Regions from separate parts of the Homo sapiens genome. Here regions 1, 2, 3, 5, 6 and 7 are each linked to region 4. Evidence: promoter capture Hi-C in 16 types of primary human blood cells and fetal thymus (Javierre and others, 2016). All regions are on one chromosome and are shown on one strand. Each heading gives the region's core, a stretch centred on a gene start or on the middle of the fragment in contact. The rest is flanking DNA. Distances are from core to core; before and after follow the strand shown.

Evidence for each region. Contacts are between HindIII fragments. The CHiCAGO score rates a contact against its expected background, and 5 or more counts as called.
Region 1: a contact is called between a fragment that was not itself captured here and the fragment with the promoter of BCL2L11 in region 4, in 4 of 17 cell types (neutrophils, total CD8 T cells, naive CD8 T cells and 1 more). The highest score is 8.7, in neutrophils.
Region 2: a contact is called between a fragment that was not itself captured here and the fragment with the promoter of BCL2L11 in region 4, in 1 of 17 cell types (fetal thymus). The highest score is 5.1, in fetal thymus.
Region 3: a fragment that was not itself captured here is called in contact with the fragment with the promoter of BCL2L11 in region 4 in 8 of 17 cell types (neutrophils, M2 macrophages, erythroblasts and 5 more); the score reaches 14.6 in neutrophils.
Region 5: a contact is called between a fragment that was not itself captured here and the fragment with the promoter of BCL2L11 in region 4, in 1 of 17 cell types (neutrophils). The highest score is 5.9, in neutrophils.
Region 6: a fragment that was not itself captured here is called in contact with the fragment with the promoter of BCL2L11 in region 4 in 5 of 17 cell types (erythroblasts, neutrophils, total B cells and 2 more); the score reaches 9.1 in erythroblasts.
Region 7: a fragment that was not itself captured here is called in contact with the fragment with the promoter of BCL2L11 in region 4 in 1 of 17 cell types (neutrophils); the score reaches 7.2 in neutrophils.

What each region holds. Positions count from the first base shown.
Region 1 is chr2:110,668,910-110,671,769 of GRCh38, reverse strand. BUB1 (BUB1 mitotic checkpoint serine/threonine kinase) reads left to right here. Exons shown (of 25, transcript NM_004336.5): 5 at 1,202-1,245; 6 at 2,217-2,317. Among named protein-coding and RNA genes, the nearest start is that of BUB1, 7.7 kb to the left of the region's middle. The HindIII fragment of the contact is 5,248 bases long and covers 1-2,860 here.
Region 2 is chr2:110,756,471-110,759,310 of GRCh38, reverse strand. All of the region lies in intron 1 of ACOXL (acyl-CoA oxidase like), which reads right to left. Among named protein-coding and RNA genes, the nearest start is that of ACOXL, 25 kb to the right of the region's middle. The HindIII fragment of the contact is 4,274 bases long and covers 1-2,840 here.
Region 3 is chr2:111,615,750-111,618,487 of GRCh38, reverse strand. LOC107985933 (a long non-coding RNA gene) reads left to right here. Exons shown (of 3, transcript XR_001739641.2): 1 at 1-620. Among named protein-coding and RNA genes, the nearest start is that of MIR4435-2HG, 120 kb to the right of the region's middle. RefSeq lists enhancers at 209-881, 1,605-2,106. The HindIII fragment of the contact is 3,790 bases long and covers 1-2,738 here.
Region 4 is chr2:111,119,656-111,122,412 of GRCh38, reverse strand. It overlaps BCL2L11 (BCL2 like 11), which reads right to left and starts at 1,499. Exons shown (of 4, transcript NM_138621.5): 1 at 1,225-1,499. RefSeq lists silencers at 767-1,061, 1,395-1,934 and enhancers at 945-1,064, 2,215-2,294. The HindIII fragment of the contact is 10,886 bases long and covers 1-2,757 here.
Region 5 is chr2:110,686,829-110,689,528 of GRCh38, reverse strand. The region is part of intron 1 of LOC105373554 (a long non-coding RNA gene); the gene reads right to left. Among named protein-coding and RNA genes, the nearest start is that of BUB1, 10 kb to the right of the region's middle. RefSeq lists enhancers at 104-1,075, 1,076-2,047. The HindIII fragment of the contact is 1,780 bases long and covers 384-2,163 here.
Region 6 is chr2:111,519,780-111,522,663 of GRCh38, reverse strand. No RefSeq gene overlaps it. Among named protein-coding and RNA genes, the nearest start is that of MIR4435-2HG, 26 kb to the right of the region's middle. The HindIII fragment of the contact is 429 bases long and covers 1,184-1,612 here.
Region 7 is chr2:110,713,729-110,716,551 of GRCh38, reverse strand. No RefSeq gene overlaps it. Among named protein-coding and RNA genes, the nearest start is that of ACOXL, 17 kb to the left of the region's middle. The HindIII fragment of the contact is 787 bases long and covers 1,014-1,800 here.

The DNA.
Region 1 (2,860 bases), core at 1-2,500, 450 kb after region 4:
TACATATACAGCTTTGCGTCAAGGTCTTTTTCCTTCATCATAAAATTATTTTTTAGTATATTTCCTATTTTTACTTAGTTTCTTTTCATAGATTCTCAGAATTGAAACTATTGAGTCAAAGAGTATATGAAGAGTTTTTACACTTGTGGTGCATGTAACCAAACTACCTACTTGAAGGTTATACCAATTGTTTACTCTTCCCCTCTCATTAGTAGAATTTGAGACCTATTATCTACTGCACCCCTTGCCAGCCTTTAATATACTCATCTTTTCAGTTTTTCTGTAGTACTCATGCTTTTTTAAAACGTCATTGAGATTTTTCAAACACACATAAAAAAGAAAAAATTAGTATAATAAACTTCCATTTATCTATCACCAACTTTTAATAATTAACATTTTGTGTTTCTCAATGCTGACAAATTTTAAAGCCGATCCATAACAGCAAAATATTTTTCCCCAAACCCTATTGTAAACATCTCTAAAATCTTATTTCTTACAGAGCCTTATTCGATAATCATACCTAAGAAAACTAACAATAATTATTTAATATGTAATTTTCAGTCTTTCCTCATCACGTAAAATGGCTTCTTAACCATTGGTTTGTTTGACTTAAGAGCCAACAAGGGTTACCACTTGGTTGCTTTATAGTGTGCACTTTGGCTCGCATCGCTCAGAAATGTCAGGCATGGGAATTGCACATTACCCGACAGGTAGAGTTGAAAATGAAATATGCCATGAAATGACATATTTGAGAACTTCTCACAGAGTATGAACAATGATGTCTGCCTTTTGAAGCAGTAATCTAAGTACTTTTGTACTTTCACTTCTTTCTTCCAAATATATTCATTATGTTCCAAATGTATAAAGAACCTAAAGTAGGAGGTCAAACATCCTGTGTTAGAACATTTGCAGACTTGACACGTGGAGAAGAGGGTGCATTTTTATATGAATTTGAGAAATACTAACATAAACTAAGCAAAAGGAGGAATTTTTGTAATACAGATAATGTATTGGATATAAAAATATTTCCAGAATTTTATTTTTTAATTTCGAAGCAACTCTAAAATGCAACTGTACATTCTCTCTTGACGTCAGACTTTACTAGCTTATAATAAGTTGTCTATGGTATTTAGTTTTCACTCTAACAGCTATGTACTGTAAGTTTATAATCTACATTGATGCCTTTTCTGCTGTCATTTAGGTTATTTCAGACACGCCTCACTGAAACCCATTTGCCAGCTCAAGGTAAAATCAGGCTTTCTAAAATGCCTGTTGTTGTCCATTTAGTCTTGGATTTGTACTAGTATTTTCTTTTCTTTAAAAAACAAACCCGGCTGGGCATGGTGGCTCACACCTGTAATCCCAGCACTTTGGGAGGCCAAGATGGGTGCATCACCTGGGGTCAGGAGTTCGAGACCAGCCTGGCCAACATGGTGAAACCCCATCTCTACTAAAATACAAAAATTAGCCAGGTGTGGTGGTGGGCATCTGTAGTCCTGGCTACTCAGGAGGCTGAGGCAGGAGAATTGCTTGAGCCCGGGAGGCAGAGGTTGCAGTGAGCTGAAATCATGCCACTTCATTCCAGCCCGGGCGACAGAGTGAGACTCCGTCTCCACAAAAAAAAAAAAAAAAAAAAAAAAAAACCCATCCAATTTTTAATGAAAACCAAATTGCACTCTCAGGTAACAGAGAAAGCATTCTGATCATCATAATGCCCACTAAATAGCCCCAAAGAGCAGAGGCTTTGTCTTAGCATTTTAAAAGCTCAAACCTGCAAAAAAAAAATTGATAATTTCACTGTATTTGTAGGATTTTTTTTTAATTCAAAATTGACCAAAATACTTAATCTGGACTCCATCTATTTTGAATGGAATCAAATGTGTTTAATGCAACTTTTAAAGAAATACAGCCATTTCTTTTTCTTAGAACTAAGTATCACATTTCAGCAATAAGCATTGCCTATCCTATCTGGTTGTTTAAAATTATTAGTTAGGTTTTACATTTCTTTTGGGTACTTCCTGGCATGTTGAGTTGATCAGAAAATTGTATAATACTTATTTTAAAAACGTTTTAGTTGAAATTTCTGAGACAGTGTGAATGAGTTGATTTACTTCTTATGATTCCTACTGGAAGGATCAGGGGAATTTATTATGTGATAATTTTACTTACGGTTTTACCCTTAATTTCTCCGTATTTTATCCTCTTTTCCCTCATAGCTAGAACCTCAGAACCTCTGCATAATGTTCAGGTTTTAAATCAAATGATAACATCAAAATCAAATCCAGGAAATAACATGGCCTGCATTTCTAAGAATCAGGTAATAATGACATTTGTAGCTTGTGTGGAAACTGGGAATGGTATTGAATGGCCAGCCTGGCTGCCTTCTACATCCACTTTGACATCTCATTTCTTTGATCTTTCTCTTCATGGCTCTGAGCTCCATGTCAGCCACCTGCTCCTGTGGCAACTTCCTGGGCCTGTTATTCTCCCACACAGCTCACCTCAAATACAATTTGTTGTCTAACCCAGAGGCCCTCACCACACGGCCTCCTGTCTTTACTCTCCCCACCAGCTTTTCCCTTACCAATGTCCTTTCCTCTGTTCTGCTGGCCTCTGCATAGGCTCTGGAAATCCCTACTGGGAATGGATCCACCTGGGGGCTTCTGAGCCTGGCTTTCAAAACTCAGAGCCTCAAAGATTGCTGCCTGTTACCTCAAGTAACAGGGAGGTCTCATACTCCCAGGCAATGGGTCATACTCCCAGGCAATGGGACATGCTTCCAGTGTCTGATTCACTCTTTATGTTTTGTGTATCTCTTATGTTTCCAGGTTCACTCTAGCGCCAAACTATAGTGATTTTA
Region 2 (2,840 bases), core at 310-2,809, 360 kb after region 4:
AGACTCTCACACAATAATACTGGGAGACTTTACCACCCCACTGACAATAGTAGACAAATCATCAAGAAAGAAAATTAACAAAGATATTTAGGACCTGAACTCAACCTCAGGATCAAGTAGACCTGACAGATATCTACAGAACTCTCCACCCAAAAACAACAAAATATACATTCTTCTCATCATTACATGGCACTTACTCTAAAACTGATCACACAATTGGAAGTAAAATACTCCTCAGCAAATGCAAAGGAACTGAAATCATAACAAACAATCTCTCAGACTGCAGAGCAATCAAATTAGAACTCAAGATTAAGAAATTCACTTAAACCCACACAACTACAGGAAACGGAACAACCTGCTCCTGAATGAGTCTTGGGTAAATAATGAAATTAAGGCAGAAATCAAGAAGTTCTTTGAAACTAATGAGAACAAAGAAATGATGTACCAGAATCTCTGTGACGCAGGTAAAGCAGTGTTAAGAGGGAACTTTATAGCACTACATGTCCACGTCAAAAAGCTAGAAAGATCTCAAGTTAACAACCTAACATCTCAACTAAAAGAACAAGAGAACCAAGAGCAATAAACTCCCAAAGCTAGCAGAAGACAAGAAATAACCAAGATCAGAGCTGAACTGAAGGAGATAGACAAGAAAAACACTTCAAAAAATCAATGAACCCAGGAGCTGGTTTTTTGAACAAATTAAATAGACCACTAGCTAGACTAATAAGGAAGAAAAGTTAGAAGAATCAAATAAACTCAACCAGAAATGATAAAGGGGATATCACTACTGACCCCACAAAAATACAGCCATCAGAGAATGGCCATACTGCCCCAAATAATGTATAGATTCAATGCTATTCACATTAAACTCCCATTGACATTCTTCACAGAATTAGAAAAAATCATTTTAAAATTCATATGGAACCAAAAAGGAGCCCAGATAACCAAGACAATCCTAAGGAAAAAGAACAAAGCTGGAAGCATCACACTATTTGACTTCAAACTATACTACAAGGCTATAGTAACTAAAACAGCATGATACTGGTACAAGAACAGACACATAGACCAATGGAACAGAACAAAGAACTCAGAAATAAAACTGCACACCTACAAGCATCTAATCTTTGACAAACCTGACAAAAACAAGGAATGGGAAAAGGACTCCCTATTTAATAAATGGTGCTGGGAGAGCTGGCAAGTTATAGGCAGAAAATTAAAACTAGACCCCTTCCTTACACCATATATAAAAATTAACTCAAGTTGGATTAAAGACTTAAATGTAAAACCCAAAATTATAAAAACCCTAGAAGAAAATCTAGGGAATATCATTCAGGACATAGGCATGGGCAAAGATTTTATAATGAAGACACCAAAAATGACTGCAACAAAAGCAAAAATTGACGAATCGGATCTAATTAGACCAAAGAGCTCCTGGACAGCAAAAGAAACTATCATCAGAGTGAACAACCTACAGAATGGGAGAAAATTCTTGCAATCGATCTATCTGACGAAAGTCTAATATCCAGAGTCTATGAGGAACTTAAACAAATTGACAAGAAAAAAAAAAACCCCATTAAAAGGTAGGCAAAGGACCTGAACAGACACTTCTCAAAAGAAGACATACATGTGGCTAACAAACATATGAAAAAAGGCTCAACATCACTGATCATTAGAGAAATGCACGTCAAAACCATGAGATACCAGCTCACATCAGTCAGAATGTTGATTATTAAAAAGTGAAAAAACAACAGATGCCGGCGAGGTTGCGGAGAACGAGGAACACTTTTACACTGTTGGTAAAAGTGTAAATTAGTTCAACCACCATGGAAGACAGTGTGGTGATTCCTCAAAGACCTAGATGCAGAAATACCAATTGACCCCACAATCCCAATACTGGGTATATACCCAAAGGAATATAAATCATTCTATTATAAAGATACATGCATGCATATGTTCACTGCAGCACTATTTACATTAGCAAAGACATGGAATCAACCTAAATACCCATCAATGATAGACTGAATAAAGAAAATGTGGTACATATATACCATGGAATACTATGCAGACATACAAAGGAATGCGATTAGGACATTTGCAGGAACATGGACAAGTTGGAAGCCATTATCCTCAGCAATCTAATGCAGGAATGGAAAACCAAAACAGCACATGTTCTCACTTATAAGTGGGAGCTGAATGATGAGAACATATGGATACATGGTGAGAACAACATGCACTGGAGCCTGTCTTGGGGGGGGTTGGAGGAGGGAGAGCATCAGGTAGAATAGCTAATGGATGCTGGGCTGAATACCTAGATGATGAGATGATCTGTACAGCAAACCACCACGGCCCACGTTTACCTATGTAACAAATGTGCACATCCTGCACATGTACCCCTGAATTTAAAAAAAGCTGAAGAAAAAATAAAAGGGGCAAATCTCCCGTAAAATTTTTTTTAAAAAGATGTGTGATAAGGCCTTAAGTAACTCAAATTGTGCAAAACAGGCAGATAGACCAATAGAATAAAATAGAATATTGAGAAACAGAAGTAAGTATATATGGAAATTTAATATATGTAAGACAAATGTGGTATATCAAATCATGGGAAAAACAAACATTACTGAAACATCCAGCTGGGTGGCCAACTGGAAAGGAAAATTAAGTCAGATCCCCATTTCACACCACGTACTAGAATAAATTCCAAATAGATCAACAATTGACATGAAGAAAAATAAAACCACAAAGTATTAAAATAAAACCTGAAGAATTATTTCATAATTTTAATCCAAGAAATCAGTAGATGAGGGCCACTAATGCACAGATAATACACACATCGCCCAAAG
Region 3 (2,738 bases), core at 28-2,527, 500 kb before region 4:
AATCCCAGGACTTGGGGCTTCCCGGTGAAAGCTGCTGATTTCTGTGACCTCTTGGATGGATGCCTTGCGTCCCAAGGGCAAAGATCACGCTCAGATCCCTGTCTGGGGCCTCACTTCTTGGCCGCCTGTCTGCCGCTCATGCTGCTGCCGCCTCCCCAGGGCTTTTTGGAGGATAATCTAGAAAGAGGCAGCCTGGTATGCATACGGAACGGAAAAAGTAATGATTCTGGAACTGGCTGGATCTAATTTAAAATCCTGGCTCTGCAACATGCTGGCTGGGTGACTGTGGGCAGAGCCTGGCTCCCATGTGTCAGGCACCCTGTAACTTCTCCAAGAGCCCTGCAGATTCAGAACATCAACCCCACTTCCCTGGGTTGGGGGAGGCAGAAGAGCTGCCCGGGCTACGCAGGCCAAGGCAAGACCAAGCTGGATTTGAGCCCATGCTGTTCTGACCACAAAGCCACCCTCTGTTGTCCACGTGACACTCCAGTGCCACAGGCTGGGAGTGCCCCAGGAGCACTGGAGTTCCTGTAGGTCCCATAGCTCTTCCTATGGGTGGAGGTGAGGGGTGCACAGGAAACTCTTCCTGCCTGGAGAAGGTGCATGCACACGTGCGTAAGGTATGCATTCTACTCATGGGTGGCACATTTATTTAACTATTCCTTTACAGTCAGACATGGCGATCACTTCCAGTTTACTGTTCATCAGTAAAGCTGTGTAAAATATTCAAAATCCCAAGTCTTTTCTCCATTCCTACTTCCTTATGAGACATACCTGAAAGCCGAGTCACTGTGTCTCTGTATGAAAAATGCAGGCCTTAAATAAAATACCTGTTGTTAAATTGCCATCAATAAGGGCTCTGGTGGGACTTGTACTCCCCCTGCTCAGAGACTTTTTCCCTGTAGCTGGAGGCTGTTTGTGAGTTAAGGTCAAGGCTATGTTGTTTTGATCTTTGGTTAAGACTAACAAAATACCCAGTGTGTGTATGTGCGTGTGTATGGGGGGGAGGGGAGGGCTGCAAAATCAATTTCTACCACAAAAGGGCACCCTCAGTGCCCTCTCCACTGTTTTCCCAATCTATTGTTTAAATCCCACGGTGCATAGGCAAATGCACAGAGAATGTAAGGAAATGAAAAAAAAAAACAAAAAAACAAAACAAAAAAAACAACCAGAGAGGAAAAAGAAAAAAGAAGAATCTTGCCTGGGATAGTGAGTATATAAGAGGTTTTCTTTTTCTAGTCAAAATGTTTTTACAGTAAAAATGGGAGGGGAGGGAAAGGATATCCTCAGCCAGACTATGAACCCAACCCTCTTAGATGTTAGACACTTGGGAACAGACAGGACCTGTCAATTAATTTTTAAGGTAAAAAATGTGGAGATCCTTTTGTTCCGCCTGGAAACTGAAGTCCAAGCGTGGTCTGTCTGCCCTCTGGCAAGGCAGGCTGCTGACTTTTCTCTCCAGCTGTGCACCTGTGTGCAGGTGCCTCTCAGGTGTCATGCATCGAAGTGAAGTTGCTCTGACCCAGCCTCTGAAGAGGACAGAGGGGCTCTGATGCTGCTCCAGTGAGCACTCTGTCGGCTGAAGTGCGGGTGCTCAGGCTCTGGCTGACCAGGGCAAGCGTGGGGTGAGAAAGAGCAGCCGCATCTGGATGTGCAGGCCAGTGATGCCCAGCAAGGCTGCATTCCTCAAACCCCAGGGACAGGGAGCCATGGACTTCACCTGGTGACCTTCAGATTCTGCCCTGAGCTTAACACGGTACAGGGGGAGGGCAGATACCATCTTCATTTTACTTCTGGCCTCCTCAGTCACTGGGAATGGTGATGCCAGGACTTGACTGTAATTGGAGATAGGCCCTTTGAAGAGGTACTTAAGTTAAAATGAAGCTGGTAGGGTGGACCCTGATCCAAACTGATGGGCGCTCTTAGAAAAAGAGGAAATTTGGACAAAGAAGAAACACGAGGAGGTCTTGTTCATAGAGGGACAACCACGTGAAAAGACAGCGAGAGGGCGGCCATCTGCAAGCCAAGGCGAGAGGCCTCGGCAGAAACCAGTCCTACTGGCACTTGATTGGGACTTTGAGCCTCTAGAACTGTGAGACATAAATTTCTGTTGTTTAAGCCACCCAATTCATGGCATTTTGTTTTGGCCATCCTAGCAAACTAATACAACCAGCCTCTCTCATCTCACACACAATTTAATAAAACTGGAGTCATTCTGCATTGCAGTTCTGTATCATGCTTTATTCACTTCATCTTTGCATTGTGAGCCCTTTCCTGTGTTCACGGTTCCCTGCTGACCAGGAGGATAAGGTTTGAATGCCACAGCCCAGCACTCGTGATCATCCATGGACAGCCCTTCTTCTACCCAGCCATGCTGGTTTGCTCTCTGTTTCCCAGACTCTGTATGTCTGTCTTTTCTGCTCCTGCCAGCCCCTGGCATCCATTAAAAGTGATTTTCCCTGCTGTCATTCAAGGCATGGCTCATACTGAAACCTGTCTTGCCATGTATCCCGCTTCATGGCAGGGCATTTATAAATCAACCTGTGTCTCCAGCATTTACCATGCTCCCTTGTAACACATATTATGTCTTCACCCAGCCTTAGGAGATGGTGATTATTTTAAAATGAGGATTGAGAATTGTTAGTCTGTTCTGGCATTGCTATAAAGAAATACCTGAGACTGGGTAATTTATAAAGAAAAGAGGTTTAAGTCGCTCATGGTTCTGCAGGCTGTACAGG
Region 4 (2,757 bases), core at 250-2,749:
CGCTTCGTCGGAGGATTTGAGGGCCGGCTGGCCCGGCCACCCTGCCCATCCCTGTGCTCCTTCCGGACACAAGCCTTAGCAGCTCCCGCCGTCCTGGACAGCCAGTCACCTGGAGACAAAGCAGGACTTGCGCCGCGCCCGGACCCGCAGGGCCATCCCCAGGCCCAGTCCTCGCCACTTGTCCTTGTTTTGGCCCGTCGGGGGCAGACCCTAACGGCCGTCACCGCCCTGGCTGTGGCAACTATTCTCCTCCAACAACTTCCTCTCTCTCCTGGTGCGCCGCAGACACGAGTCAAAGCCGAAGAGCCACCCCTGGCCGCGGACGCGCACGTCCGCGACCATCGAGTAAATTCACACCCTCCGCCCTGGCGTCCGTCGGGCCCTCCACCAGCAGCGCCAACCCTGGGGCAACAGGTCCCAGAGGGCACGGCGCCGCCAGCCTGCACCGCGAACCGGGTCGGGTGTGCTCGGGCATGCGTGAGCCGCTAAGATAGCCCGGCCCAGGGACCGAGCAGGTTCTGCCGGCCGCGACTAGTCCCCTGCGCGGTCCAGGTGGTCAGGGGAGGACCTAGATTTCTCGCTGCCAGGGAATCGTGCGGATGGCACAGGCCGCAGGACTCCTGCAGAGCAAGCAGGGGCCCCAGGTACGCTTGAGAAAGCGAACGCAGCAGTGGCCCCGAAACCTTGGCCTGAATGAGTAAAAGGAAAAGCCGTGTCTCGTCAGTTAAATCACCACCGCAGTTCCGCAAATCCTCCGCAACAGGCCCACGCGCCCCAAAAAACCAAGACACGAAACACCCTCACACTGCGCGGCCGCTACTCTGAGGGCGCCGGAGCCGGCGGCGAGACTTTCCAGCTGGGCGCACAGCCCGATACTACGAGCAGGTCCTCAGCTCCCGGGCCGGCGCCGAAAGGCACGCGCTGCCTCTCCTCCTGCCCGGACCTACGACCCTTCACCAGGCCCGCGCGCAGCATCCCGTCCCAAGCCGCACTTCGGCCAAGAGCCTGCAGGTTCCGCGTGAACGACTTTTCTTTAAAGAGAACCTGCCCGAGAGGGAACCCGATCCACACGGATCCCCACCTCCCGCCGGCGACAAGCGGCGCCGATGCAAGCGTCTCCGCTCGCACGTGCACGGGAAGCGGGCAGTAGGTGGTGCCGTTCGGGCTCCAGCGCTAGTCTTCCTTCGGTGCCAGGCCCGCGCCCCGGGATTTGGAGGTATTTACCTTGCGTTTCTCAGTCCGAGAGTCAGAGTCAGACATTTGGGGGAACAAGGGCCAAGAAAGGGCGCCGAGGCGGTGGCGGCGGGAACGCAGCGAACCGAATACCGCGATGATGCGATCGCAGTGTGGCAGGGTTCGCAGGGTGGCTGCAAGAATCAAGTGGTGGTAGTGGCGGCGGCGGCGGCGGCGGCGGCGGCGGCGGCGGCGGCGGCAGCGGCAGCGGCGCTGGACGCAGAGCTCCAACAAACTGCAGACCAGGCGGCTGCGCGGAGCGAAGTGAAACCTGCGCGGCCCTGCAGCCCAGCTCTGGCTGGCGGCCCCGCTCCTACGCCCAATCACTGCGGACCCCGCCCCCGCTAGGTCCCGCCCCGGCGCGCGGGCTGGCAAGCTCCGCCCCCCTCGGCGCCGCGGCCGCCGGCGCGTGCAGGCTCGGACAGGTAAAGGCGGGGGTTGCCCCGCTGGGTTGCCTCCCGCGCGCGCCGCCGTCCCTGGCGTGTTTACCGGAGTAACTCTGCCTGCTGGCGGCCATGTGCGCGCCCATCCCCCACCCCGAAGTGTACCCTAGCCTCCCGCTCACCTACCCCAACCCGGCGGCGGCCGCGGCGTGCGCGGCACAGAGGGGGCGCTCCGGTCACAGCCTCCGCTGGCCCGGCCGGCGGTGTGAAGCCTCGGGAGGCGCCCTGCGCTCTCACTGTGCCCTGAGTTTCTAAGCCGCTCTGGGGCAGGCGCGGGGACTGGGTTGGTCCTCGCGAAGGCGCGGGGCGAGGTCTTTGAGCTCTCCTCCCTCTGAGGGTCCCTGGCGCCGGGCGGGACGCGGATCAGCAGGCTGCGCATCTTCCTCGCCCGGGCCTCTCGCGGGACTCAGGCACCCTCCTCCTGCCACCCCGCAGGGGCTCTCCAGCTTTTCTTCCGCGCCCAGTCGCCCTAAGAGACAGAGGCCGTGGGGGCAGGACGCGCCCAGAAAACGGCCAGGCGCGGTCCCAGTGGGCGTCTTCGCCGCCTCCCGGGTGAGGGCGGGAGGCATGTGCAAAGCAGGTAAAATAGGGAAATGAAAAAAGCACTCAGAAAAAAAAATCCTTTTAGGAAAAAAAAAAACGAGGTGAATGGCGGCCTCCAAGTGAGAGAGAACGTTGCGCACTGCATTTGGCTAGGACCCCCAAGATTTGCTGGGCTCGCAGATAACCTCGTAGGAGCTCCCTCGACTGGCTGAGGCCAGTGAAGGCAGAACAGCTGAGTTCGGGCCGCGGTGCGGGAGCGCAAAATACCCCGTCCCTCCTCCCCTCCCGCCTCCCCACCCATCCCTTTCCTCCCTGGAGTCCGCAGCACCTCACTCTACCTCCCAGGAGACCAAACTCCATGCCGCCTCTCCAGTCCTCTGAGTCTGCACCCGGGTCTGCTCTCCCAACGCGTGGCTGGCGCCCCAACCCCGGCCCTCCTGTCTGCTCCTCCCGCGCCTCAGTTCCCCAGCCCCAGCTTCTAGACAACTGCAGCGGGGGTGTGGGAGGTGGATCGGGAAATGGAACATCCCGCAGGTGA
Region 5 (2,700 bases), core at 24-2,523, 430 kb after region 4:
TGCTTGTGGTCCAAGCTACTTGGGAAGCTGAGGTAGGAGGATCACCTGAGCCTCAGAGGTCGAGGCTGCAATGAACCATGATCAAGCTACTGCACTCCAGCCTGGGCCACAGAGCAAGACTTCGTCTCAAAAAATAATAATAAAATAAACTTCCATCAGGACTATCCCTGAGATTGGATGTTTTTAAGTAAACAGGTCTGAGACTTGCTCACCTCTCTTTTTCCAGATTAGTAAGTGTCCAGCTCTTTGAAGGGCCAGAAGCCAATACAAGCTGAGCAAGAATGATGATTACTTTCCAACTTGGTAAGAGGACAAGGTTGCTGTCCTGAGAATATGATTTTATAAAAGTAGAGATGCTGTTAAAGCTCATGAAATTGTAAGCTTATGTTCAAACATGCAGATCACCTCTGTGGTATAATAAAAAAAAAAAAAAACTGCTGGTCATTTTCCTGGGTTCCTGGTTCAGAGCTTCAAAAACCCTTGGAATTTCCTGAGTCATAGGAGTGCCTTTGTTATGCTAATGAGGTGACCCCATCTGATGACTGGAGAAACACCATGATCCTTTGTCTCCCGCTGATTAGATAAACGACATGGATACAAGTGGGGTGGTTTTAAGGAGCGGGAAGTTTAATAGGCAAGAAAGAAGGAACACACTCCCCCATAGAGAGACAGAGGGAGAGGGGCTCCTAACAGAGAGAAAAACCCCTGTGTGGCAGAAAAGTCATCAGTTATATTGGGAGGCTGGAGGAGGTGGTGTCTTATTTGCCTAGGGCCCAGGGGATTGGTTTGACCAGGTGTATCATTTATGTAGCCCACAAAAAGCCTGGTCCTCCTACCCTAGCCTTTTAACATGCAAATGCAGGTCGCCATGATGTCCTGCACAGGTGGTGTTATCTGTAGGTGGCCATGACACTGTTGTACCCACTAGCGAGTTAAGAAAACGCCACACTTTGAGACGAATTAAGAGTCCTCTATTAAGCCGGCGGCCAAAGAGACAGCTAATGCTCAAAATTCTCTCGGCCACGAGGAAGGGGCTCGATTAACTTTTATACCTAGGTTTAGGAAGGGGAGGGGGACTCAAATGTAATAATTTTACAGAAGTAAAAACATGCAAGAATCAAAAGAAACAAAATGGTTACAGAGTGATAAACAACTTAAAAGACAAATGGTTACAAGAAGAGCAAGGGTACCAGGAGCAAGGTTCTAAATCTTTCATTATAATTAGATATAGGGTCTATGCCGGACACGAACTCAAGGTTTTATGTTGTCATCTCTCGGAGAAAAATCCTGGGAACTTCATACATTGTTGGTGTTAGTACCTTATCAGTTAATTGGGCTCCTTTGAAATGCTGAGGATCTGTTTACCCAGGCCAACTCCTTACGAAAGGGGGTTGGGTGAGGAGCCCTTAGTGTCTTGTAAATTAAGGGGTCAGTTGGAGTTTGTCCGGCCTTCCTAGCTAGAGAGAGTCTTATTTACATGAGAAGCAAGGCTAGGTGATTAAAGAGACAAGCAAGACAAAATTCAAAGTAACGAGTTAAAGTGAAAACAAGGTTAGGCATTTCAACACCTGGCACACATGGTGACAAAGAGAAGAGGGGAGGAATTGCCAATTGGATGGACCTAGTTTCTAATCGCTTCCATTTGCATATCAATACTTGCCGGCCTGGCTTTCCAAGCTGCTTTTCTATTAGGAAAGAAACGTTTTGGGAGTTGCTTTTATTAAAAGAAATTTCCACTGAGAACCCTCACCCTTTCTGCCTACCTAAAAATTATTTCTTAGTAAATCCTGTATTACCATGGTGGGGCCCCTAGACAGCTTCAGGATGGAAGCTGCTCAGCAGAAAGACCAAGCACCTGATAATAGTGTTGATTGAGGCTTTGAGCCCTGTGAGATCGGCTTGTTCTCCAGACCTCCAATATGCTGAAGACTGATTTCGATCAAGTAGCTAAGTATTTATTCAATCATGTTTATGTAATGAGACCTCAATAAAACCTCTGAACACCAAAGCTCAGTGGAGCTTTGTGGTTGGCGAACACATTGATGTGACAGCAGAGTGACATACCAAATTTCCCAGGGAGGGGGGCATGAAAGTTCCATGTCTAGGACCCTCCCAGACCTCATCTTAGATGTATTCTTTATAATAAAATTATAATAATAAGCTTAGGGCTTTCCTGAGCTCTGTGAGCCATTCTAGTGAATTAGTGAACCTGAGGGGGTCATGGAAACTCCCAATTTAGTGGCCAGTTGGTCAGAAGTGCAGGTGGCCTGAGAACCCCTGAACTTGCAGCTGGCATCTGAAGTAAGAGTAGTCTTACTGGGGACTATGCTCTTAAACCTGCAGAGTCTGATGCTAACTATGGGCAGTTAGTGTCAGAATTGAATTGCAGTACATCCAGGTGGAGTGGAAACAGAACACATTCTATCAGAATCAAGAAAGGGATTGGCCAGTCACCTCTCAAGAGCGATGTGGTCAGCTGTCACTGCCTACATGCCCAAACCACCAGCTTTAAGATAAATCTGGCCAGGGCCTAGTGGCAGGTGGCTCTCTTTCCTCAGAGCTCAACACTTCCCTGACATGTGATTTGATTTTTTTTTTTTTTTTTTTTTTGAGATGGAGTCTCAATCTGTCACCCAGGCTGGAGTGCAGTGGCGCGGTCTCAGCTAACTGCAACTTCCGCCTCCCGGATTGAAGCGATTC
Region 6 (2,884 bases), core at 149-2,648, 400 kb before region 4:
CTGGTTTCTCTGGCATCTCTGGGTTCCAGAGGAGCCTTTGTAGAACTGACCCAGGGCTTAAGCCAGCTTTGCACTGTTTACACTTCCCTGGATTTCATAGCTTTACTGGAACCTGAAAATAGTTTGTTTTTTTTCCTGAAACACAGATGTACCAAGTTCTTATGAAATTAAAAGGAATCCAGTAACCAAAACCCATCTCCCATCTCATCTGTTGTGAGTGCAAATGTCGCATTTAAAGGCTGGAAAGTACTTGGCCTTTGGCCTGGAGACACGGGGCCCTAGAAGGAGGAACCAGTGGAGAGTCCCACAGACCTGGGTGTTCACCCTTCTCTGCCACCTGATAGCATTTGAACTTGGGTGAAAATTGTAGCTTCTTAGGGCTCAGTTGCCTCATCTGTAAAATGGGGCAAAATCATCCACTTTGCAGAGTTGCTGTGTGGGCTGGAGATACAGAGAATGGGGACCTCTCCTGTGTGTTTAGTAAGTGGTGGGTGGGAGGTGATTTTCCTGGAGTCCGTGCCTTCCTTCTTCACCTCCTTTGGAAAGATTCTTCCCCAGCCTGCTCCTCCCTGCTCTGATCACTTTGCACACATTTTTCTGTTCCAAATCCCAGACCTGGATCTGTAACCCCAGCTTACCTGCTCTGTACACCCCTTCTTGTGCTCTTACCTATGGGCCAGCTTCCCTCCAGGGTCTCGTAGGCCCTGAAAGTACACGCGCCAGACACTGATCTCCTCTTTCCCCACAGGGTGTCTCCTCCTGCCTCCCCGTGCCTGTTTCATCCATCTGATTACTCGGGTGCCTGGGTGGCAAACTCGGAGTCATCTTTGCTTTGCTTTTCCTGTCTCTGATGACCTCCTTTCTGCTCCCTTGCCAGCCCCTTACTCTTGCCTCCGGCATCCTGGCCTCCGGCCAGTCCATTTTCCATATTAAGGGCGGATGCATTTTCTTACCACTCTCCTTTCCTTGGCAGCCTTCAGAGATGGCCTGCTTCTCACCAGGGGAGACACTTGTTATAGGACACTAGCTCTAAATGTCATGAATCAGAAATAAATTTCTAGCCCCACGGTCAGGGTCTTGCGGTCTAATCCCACCTTGTTGTTCCTCCTTTAGCTCCCTCTCCTCCCCAGCTGAAATCATTCCGGTTCAATCCAATCAAGCTAAACATTAGCCAATGGAAGCTTCACATTCCCTACAGAATCCTGCTCTCCGGTTCCCATTCTGCTTTCTGGACTCATCTACTTTACTTTTGGACTACTCTTGCCTAGAATGCATTGTTGACTCCCTACTCTTTAATTTTGTCCAAGCCTTTTCTCTCATCTTATTTACAAAATCAATCCTCTATTGGGTGTTGTCAGTGGGAGTCAGGGTAGAATCCCAGAGAGCAGTAAGTGCACAGAAAACAGGTCAAATGTATTAGGGTTGAAAAATAAATGTTAGAATTTTTTAAACATTCAAAAACCTAGCTTCTTTAAGTTTTAGAGTTCAAATTATAAATTTCATTATTCTACCTACTAATTTAATTTTACAACTTATTAATTACACCCCATAAATATTTTAAACTGCGTGTATGCATCTAATGTATTTGACGGTCTTAAGTTCTCCCAAAGCTTGTAACAAACAAGATCTCTCCAAGAACTTAAAGCATTCTTTGAAATCTGATAAATGAAACATAGAATGCATGTTCATCCTATGTAAAAGCTTACACAAGTCATTTTATACCTTTTGACCAATATCCAGATTCTAAAGTTGAATACCCAATTATACACTTTAAATTGGAGTCACCAGGCTAATCCAATGGATTTGCCAACATTTGCAAAATATTACAAACCTTTTAAAAGTGAAATACACACCAATGGCTCACCAGGGTTAATGTGGCTCTGTATGGGTTTGACAGACTCCCTCATTTCTCAGATTAATTCTAACCTCCTGTGTTGAAATACTGGCCCACCTAAACAGCAAACAAGTTGAGCTTTCCATTGCAAGGACCCACTAGAGGGATTTGGGGCTAAGGCTCAGGATTTGAGTTAGCACAGCCGTGTTTATTTGATTGTAACATGAATGCCCCTACTTACCAAGTGATTGGTCCGTCAGACCACGGTCCTTAGATCAAAGGTACACATCACCCAGCTCTGGGACCCTTCAAATCTGCACGCCCTGGGTTTCCATTTCTGATTCTCCTCTTCACCCCATCTCATCTAGGCTTTAATGACCCTCCATGGGCTTCCCATCAGACCCTCTCCTCCACATACAAATGGCTAGGGCCTCTTTTATCATCACAGATAATTTTAGTGGAATCACAGATAATTTAGTGGAAGGATAATTGTGTCCTTCCCAGATTCTTCTTGTCAAATAAGCCCCAAACGTTGAGAGATGTTAAGATGTCATGGACAGAATTCTGCCTCTCCTGCAGGATCTGCCTCTGGGCCTGTGCACTGTAGTCTTGCTAAGGACAGAGGTCTGGGCAGAAAGGACTGCCCCTCTGTCCATGATCTATTGCACATGGCAGCATTGCCTGTCAGATCCCACATGCCTTTGAAATTGCAGCGGGTCCTCTGCGATCCACCTCCCCTCCTCCCCGCCCCTATGGTAGCCCACATGTTTTAGGTGAGCAATAACTAACTGTGGTCCTGCTGGATGCATTTGCCTGTGAGAGAGGGCCAGATAAGGGGAGTGATTAGCTCAGGACCATACAGAATCGATGCCCTCACTATAAGCTGTGTCACATTTGATGTACTTTCTCCTTCTAGTACAGCTGCTGACATAAGACTAATGGATTAGCTCTTATCCTCATATTCTCAAGGTGGCTTTTAGCTATAGAAACACTAATTTATATTCCCCAAGTGAGAGAGACTTTGAGTTCTTAAACCATCATCACAATGTT
Region 7 (2,823 bases), core at 158-2,657, 410 kb after region 4:
GAGAAAATTTCAAGGAATGTAGGATAAGGACACACAAAAAAACTCACCATAGTCACAATGAAAATGGAAATTTGTATACTTGTATATTCATTTCTGAGTCTAAAAATATCACATTCATATGGGAGAATATTTGGAAACCTAAGAAAACTGTAAAGAATAAACTCGCTTATACTCTCACCACCTAGAGATTTTAATCGCTAACATTTTAGTAGGTTTCCTTCTTGTCTGTTTATACATTGTATATAGGATCTTTTTCAAATTGTTAATATAAACAACCCCAAGTATTTTTGTATGTAAAAAAATAAATATTTAAAAATCTAAGAGCTATAAACTGGCAAGGGGATATGTAAGTTTTTTAAATATTGGCCATTAATGTCAGCCAGACAGCATATTTTTATTCTTCAGCTCTTTTGTTTTGGCTGGGGCTACCTGAGTCCTCCTTCCAGTTGTCCAACATCACCCATCCACATTACCCCATTTCATCCAGAGGTGATAGGCTCAGGTTAGCACCTTGAGCTGGTGGGTCTTGCAGCACTCCCCCGATGACCAGAAACAGAGCCCTAGACCTAAGTCCAACTGCCCCTGCTGCTCCTGACCTTACTTCTCAGGAAGACCAGGAATGGAGACCAGATAGACCCACTGAAATCCATGGTGGTTAGCAGGAGAGCTGCGGCCATTTGTTCATAAGCCAGGTTGTGGCTCTTTGAGGGGCAGAAGGGGCTTAGGAGTTACCAAGGACCATACATTATAGGAGATTTCACCAGACAGCTTCTGGAGAGAGATGGTTATGAAATTAATTCATCAGACTTTGCCAAGAGATAATAAATTCATTAGCAAGGGGCATCTTTTGAATAGGAGAATTGGCATATGACTGTTGGGTAGGCTAACACCACTAATTCTGAAAACCAAAGGGGTCTTCAGGAAGGACCGCCCAGCGAGAGAGGTTTTTAGATCTGGCTGGACATTACCAATGAGATGCTTCAGAAGTGAAATAGAGCAAATACAGAAAAGCTTACCTGAGTCACATCCTAGGCACATCTGTATAACCAGGGCTAACGATGCTTTCAAATTGTGACTGAAAACTGAAAGATATTTTAGAACACAGAAAACCATGAGATAGACTAAACAGGCCAAATTTCTAATATCTTACCAGAAAAAGAAATATTTCCCCTTATGATGCTAGAAATATAAGCCAGGAGGGAAAGAAGAACCAGAAAACGGAGAAAAGACAAAATAGATCAAAAAAGAAAGACAAACAAAACAGAAAAAGGCAAAAAGAAATCTAGTTGTTAGGTTCTCAGCAGATTTTATTGGTTTCATGATGGCCAACATTAAAAGAAAAACTTTAGCCAAATTAAGTTTAACAAAGTTTAACTGAGCAAAGAAGGATTCGCAAATCCGGCAGCCTCCTGAGCCAGAGTAGGCTCAGAGACTCCAGTGCAGCCACGTGGCGGAAGAAGATTTATGGACAGAAAAAGGAAAGTGACAGTACAGAAAATGGAAGTGAGGTACAGAAACAGCCAGATTGGTTACGGCTTGGCTTGTGCTTTATTTGAACACGGTTTGAACAGCTGGCCACCTTTGATTGGCCAAGACTTGGTGGTTGGCACAAGAGGAGGCTACAGTCTGTTTACAACTACATTTAGGTTATAGTTCACACTGTACAGAGAAACCTTTAGGCCAAACTTAAAATATGTAAGGAGGCAGATTTAGGCTAAACTTGATTTAACATCAGTGATGGTACAGGAGTAAGTGGTGCAGTGTTTCAGCTCAATAAGGGTGTGAACTCTTTTTAAAGCTTGCAAAATCTCAGTATTTCTCCACAATTCAACTTCTTTCTTATCTTGGCATCCTTACAGTAAGGAGCAGTAAAGCAAACAAGAGTACATAAAAACTTCAAAACAAACAAGTTAAAATACTTCAGAAAGAACTACACCCTAAATCACAACAGAACAAAGTGAAAGGGATTTCAGGATATTAGGCTGCATAAATCCTAATTAAAGACACAAAAAGGCATTAGGAAGACAATCTTCCTAGGCTCTACACAAGGAAAAAAAAGGGATGAAGAGAATATATCACAACTAGGTTTAAAATACTCACTGATCTTGGATGTAATGTGGGGATCCTATATTCCTATATGGCTCTCTCTGCTTCCATCTTAGTATATTTACCCCTCAGCATTCTATGGAACTGATTATATGGGGTAGATTTTATTCCTTCCACCTAGGAAAGTCTGGAATCCCTTAGACAAGGGTGCTCAAGTGCCATGAGCCATGAAGACACTGAAGAATCTGCAGGCACATCTGAATATTAGAGCATGCATGGGAAGCGACTGCCCAGCCCATGGGCTTGGGTGGCCATTAGGCTTCCAAATTCCAATATGATTCACACCATTCATAAGACAAGTCCCAACTGGACCCTCCAGGACCTGCTGTTTATGTTTTACCTCGAACAGAAAAGACCACAGAGCCACCCTCTAACATCCTGAATCTATAGACATAATGACACCAGCAACAATGACACTGGTTTCATTCGCATCTGTAGAAGGTCTACTCACACATGGACCCCTGTTTTGAGAAAGATATTGTGGGCAAAAACTCCAGGGACTGCACTCATGTGCAGCTTAAAAGAAAAAGCTACTTCAGTAAGTCTGAAGTTGTCCGTGGCAGCAGCTCCCCACAATACCTGTGTGATGCTATAAAACAGTAGTCAGGAAATGTAAGAAGCATTACAGCCAGCCTCTGAAGATCACACCATCTGTCAAGTCCCCACCTGGGCTGGAATGTGTGTGTGTGCTGATGATAGGTCATATGACCATATGAC